Regions from separate parts of the Homo sapiens genome. Here region 2 is linked to region 1. Evidence: promoter capture Hi-C in human tissues and cell types (Jung and others, 2019). All regions are on one chromosome and are shown on one strand. The core of a region is centred on a gene start or on the middle of the fragment in contact, and the rest is flanking DNA. Distances in the headings are between cores, read along the strand shown.

Region 1 (2,700 bases), core at 133-2,632:
ACTAGAGGCTGGGAAGGGTAGCAGGGGTATTGGGAGGAGGTGGGGATCATTAATGGGTACAAAAAAATTAAAAAGAATGAATAAGACCTATTATTTGTTAGCAAAATAGGGTGGCCATAGTCAATAACTTCATTGTAATTTTAAAATAATTAAAGAATGTAATTCTTTACATTCACATTAAAGAATGTAATTGGATTACATTCACATTAAAGAATGTAATTGGATTTTTTGTAACTTAGAGGGTAAATGCTTGAGGGTCTGGGTGCCTCATTCCCTATGATGTGCTTATTTCACATTGCGTGCCTGTATCAAAACATCTCATATACCCCATAAATATATACACCTACTATGTACCTACAAAAATTTAGAAAAAAGGGACTCACAAATATGATAATTCTCATGTTTAAATAGCTCAGAAAAATGAATTTCATATTTTAAAACAAATCCTTTGTGTCACTCTTCTTCTTATGTAACATAAATCTAGTTTGCAGTCAATTAGGCCCATTGTTCTATAAAACCACTACTTAATTTCATGAGGCAATAGAAACATGAGGCAACCCCCCACAAACAACTATTTTACCTTACAATTTAAACAAGAAATTCAACACCAAAAGCATCAAAATAAATTATCTACATTAGGTATATCTGAAAGAGAAAAATGTTAAATTAGTCTAGTAGCTAAGTCTGTAAATAGCAGAAATTTGGCATTAACAGGTAAGAATTACAGTTTGCATTGTGATTTTTTATTACAGTGCTTCTGAAATTGTATAATAAATAAAGGTTGGATAATATAAAAACTTACATTTTACATCAGGATTAACAACTAAAAATGAGAAAACAAGGTGGATATGAGTTAGGTAAAGCTTCACAAATTAGTAAAAAGCATCTGTAAGCTAGTGTTGAAACTCTTTCATTCCAAAAAGATTATTGGGGGAAAAAAGTGCCCCAGTGGAGGTTGGATAGCTCTCAGAAGAGATGACGTTATTCTCTGCTTAGATCAACCATGCCTCAGTATGCTATGAAAGTGTGTTGCAGTGGAGAGATAAAGACCCATCACGCACACTGCCATCTGCTCCTGTCCTAGGGAAAAGGGCTCTCCCTGTACTTATCTCTCTGGTTTTCTCTGGAAGGATGTTGATGTCAAGATGTTGCTGCTGTTACTTTCTTCAGTCAGTGTAGGATTCATGATCAGAAATTTAAGCAGGAATACAATTACTTCCAGGACCTCTTCATACATTACAGATTCCCCAGGCTTATTTTAGTTTCAGGAACTCCAAAATATCCCCACCTACTAACCTTCCAAATAGATTCACTTGTTTTTAGGGCAGGTGGAACTCATATAGATTCAACCTTCCAAATAGAATCACTTGTTTCAGGGCAGGTGGAACCCATATAGTATTCCCATCCCATTTTGACTGAGTTTTATCTTCTGTGCAACCCGAACATATATTCTGTAATTTTTTCCATCAAATCTCCACAAGGAATCCAATTCCCAAAGTAGGACCAGGTAGCAAGAGCTATAGAAGCTGTGGGCAACATGTTAAGGGATCAGAAAGAAGGATAAAGCATCCCAGTGGGATTTGTTGAACCCTTTTTGTAAGATTTAACTGGAGCACAAACAAGGACAGTTCTTACCAAGAAGCAATCCCTGTTCTTTAATTTCTAGTGATTTTGAATGCAAGGGGAGTGTGAGGTGAAGTGAGGACGACCATAATCCCTGAGGTCTGTGACTATTACTATTTTCTCTGTCTTCTGAGAATGAAGAAATGAAAATGAACTGACCCTATTTTATAATTTCCGGAAATCCAGCTGAGACAATCCGATGGTGTCTTTGTGCTTTAAATTTTTCTTTTAGTCTTTTACCTAAATCCATTCTTATACTTAAATATAAAGGAGGCAGGATGTAATTTGCTAAATTAAAGTTTTTTTAATGTTTATGACTGCCAACTAAGAAAGTAAAAAAACCTATTATTTTAACCTTGAGAGAGCTCACCTGTAGCAGGTTTTAATGTGCTTTTCCCCATCAGACCTGTTCAGTAAGAGGCTTGTTGGTGATTGGTGTTCAGATTGTGTCCTCATATACTGAAAAGATGCTGCTTCCTCATATTGATGCCCAAGGGCATCTAATGCCTGGAGAGAAACAATCACTGTGACCCATATGTTGTCCACGGTCCAATTTATTAAATATATAAACTCATAAATTATATCTCTTCTTTTTCTATTTCTAATTTTATAAATATAAAAGCCTTCTATATGTCTTATAATTTTTTTGCCTAAAATTATATTTTATCTGAAAAAGATGTATTTTGTTTGATAATAGCAATGCTGAACTTGGTTTACTAACACTTAGGCTAATTTGCATTTATGTTCATTTTTGAGATTTGTTCAATAAATCACTTTTCTTCTACTGTACTTTTCTAGTTTTGTTATCATTGTTATACTAGCCCTATAAAGCAAGCTGGATTGCTGTACTTCTTTTGTCTATTCTCAATAAGTTTTACATAGTATGAAAATTAGCTGTTCCTTAAGGATCGGTAAAATTTGTCTTTAAAACTATATGGCATGGTGTTCTTTGATTAGAAGAAAATTCTGGTAACCAATTCAATTTTTTGAACATTAAGGTTTTGGATTTTCTACTTCTACATAAGGCAGTGTAAGTAATATTTTCCAAATATTTTTTATTTTTCCATAAGTCATTTG
Region 2 (2,700 bases), core at 46-2,545, 39 kb after region 1:
CTTTAAAAAATAACCCCACGAGAAATTCTTGCATGTTTCTCATATATACACATACTTTTATGATAAGGTTTATCACTAAACATTCTTTAGGATTGCAGCAATTCCGATAAGATGTTCCCTTAACACTTGCCGAGTAATAGCATCTCCACCAATGAACCAATATCTCTGGCTTTGAGCCAATGAATCCAATGAACTCTATTTCTGAGCAGTTTACGTAAACTTCAACCATTGGCAATAAAAGTTTTCCTTTACTCTTCCCTCACTGTATTTGCCATAGTACATCCCAGATTATAATTCTCTTTATTTACTCCCAAATACATTTGTTTTGTTGGGAGATAATCTTCTCTGGTGTCTTTTTTTCTTAAATTGACACATGAAAAATGTGGAAGATAGGTGTAAGAGTGCTGATATGTTCATTTTCTAGAAAATTTAAGTCATAAAGTAAAAGTAGTTTAAGTTATAATTCAAGAATATTCTTCTGAAGTAAAAATTAGACATGAATCTAGATATTGAAAAGGCAAACTATGTCCTTGGGAAATTGACACAGAATGGAAGTATAATGATACATCCTAGTAATGTTACTAAATTTAAAATATAAAGAGAGAATCATGTGGTTAGCTAGGCAAAAGTAAAGCTACTTATAGAGTCAGTCTAGATTTGTACATTTTCATAGCAATATCCAATAGCATAGCTAAAGTTTGTGAAGGAACATTTACAAAAATCCTCCAGGAAAGAAAGTATCACACAAGTTTTTTACCCAGCCAAATGTTTGTACAAATGAAAAGACACAAATAGTATAGAACATAACAGAAACCAAAGAATGTCAGTCCCAGAAAATCAGTGACAGAAGTGGCAGTGAGCATTGAATCTTTTTATTTGTAGGACTGTGATGAAAGTAAATATGAGGACTTAGCTGGCAGGGCAGAATGCAAATGCCAAAAACATGACTTGAAAATATAGAAATAAGTACAAATGACAAAAAATGGAAGAAAAGAAGATAGGAGATTGTGTAATGCTGACTTCCTCATCTTTAATGTCTGAGAGCAAAAGTATTTCACTTAAATCTGGCAAATCAAGTAAAACAGATATAAGTACATTTAATTGATAAGAATAAATACTAAGAATGGTAATATGCTCAACTAAAATCAGATGAGAGAGGAGAGACAGGAAGGCAGGATAAAGAGTATATAGACAAATTCCATTATTGTCCATAACAGGTAATTACATTCATGTGGGAAGTAATTAATTCAATGTAAAGAAACAGAAGCTTAAGGATATTGCACAAAATTAGAGATCTAAAACATAACCTCCAGAATGAAACTTAAATCTTAAGTTAGAATGATCTTAAATCTTCAATGTTAGAATGACACAAAAAATAAAACATACAACACATGTTTTTTAAAGCTACAAATCCACCAAGCTTAACATAAAATCCAATGCTCTATCCTAAAATAAACATTTCAGTTATAAATAGACAAACTCACTTATTAAAGTAACTTAGAGTTTCGATATAAATAACAAAGTTCAATTTTACTCTGTTCACAAGAAACAGAGTTAAAGCAAAGAGATTTATAATATTTAAAAAGAAAAGCATGAGTAGTGGCATACTTTTTCTTTTTTTCTGTTTCTGTTTTTGGAAGTACTACATTGTTGACTTGTTAACATTGAACTCATGGTGTGCCAAAGGTTATTTAACACCTATATTTTCTCTGTAAAAGCACATCACAGCTTTCTTGTACTTAGGGACACTATGCAATACTTTAGTATTACACTTTTAAACAGTAAAATTATGAATTGTAATCTTAATATCAGAGTAAAGCAAGAATTGTAATCTTAATATCAGACAAAAAAGTTAATGTCATATAAGAGCATGTAATAAGACCAAATAATATAATTAACACAGCAGATATTATAGTTATAACTACATAAACTTCAAATGAAATAAAGTCAACCTTTATAAAGCAAAATCTAGAAGTGACTCAAGAGGTAATAGGAACATAGAACTAGCAGGAGTGAGGAATTCAACTGTTTTCACTCTGTATCAGATTATGGGAAAAAACACATAGAGGTCTAAATAGCATAATTAACAAAATAGATATAATTAATACTTCACAGTCTCTGAAACCTGAAAACAGACAATGAACCTTCTTCTTCTTTTCTTTTTTTTTTTTTTTTTTTTTTTTTTTTTTGAGACGAAGTTTTGTTCTTGTTGCCCAGGCTGGAGAACAATGGCGTGATCTCGGCTCACTGCAACCTCTGCCTCCCAGGTTCAAGCAATTCTCCTGCTTCAGCCTCCTGAATAGCTGGGATTACAGGCTCCTGCCACCACGCCAGGCTAATTTTTGTATATTTAGTAGAGACGGGGTTTCACCATGTTGACCAGCCTGGTCTTGAACTTCTGACCCCGGATAATCCACCCACCTCGGTCTCCCAAAGTGCTAGGATTATAGGCGTGAGCCACCGCGCCCGGCCGAACCTTCTTTTTAAATGCCAGTAGAAAACTCATAAGGAAAGGGAAAGAAAGAAAGGAAAGAAAAGAAAGAAAGAAGGAAGGAAGGAAGGAAGGGCCACATATCAAGCCTAAAATAAACCTAATTTCCAAAAGTAAAATGAATGCCTGCATTATTTTCTAAACACAATTCAAAAAAATCAAATTACTAATAAAATAAGAAAATTAAATTTCCAAAATTTAACAAAACA

The links. Contacts are between HindIII fragments. The study calls those that stand out against the background at their distance.
Region 2: a contact is called between a fragment that was not itself captured here and the fragment with the promoter of OR2A25 in region 1, in 1 of the 25 tissues and cell types used here (hippocampus).

Annotation. Positions count from the first base shown.
Region 1 is chr7:144,068,493-144,071,192 of GRCh38, reverse strand. OR2A25 (olfactory receptor family 2 subfamily A member 25) reads right to left here and starts at 1,382. Exons shown (of 2, transcript NM_001386096.1): 1 at 1,297-1,382. The HindIII fragment of the contact is 18,133 bases long and covers 1-2,700 here.
Region 2 is chr7:144,029,193-144,031,892 of GRCh38, reverse strand. No RefSeq gene overlaps it. Among named protein-coding and RNA genes, the nearest start is that of OR2A5, 18 kb to the left of the region's middle. RefSeq lists a silencer at 1,311-1,511. The HindIII fragment of the contact is 4,736 bases long and covers 1-2,700 here.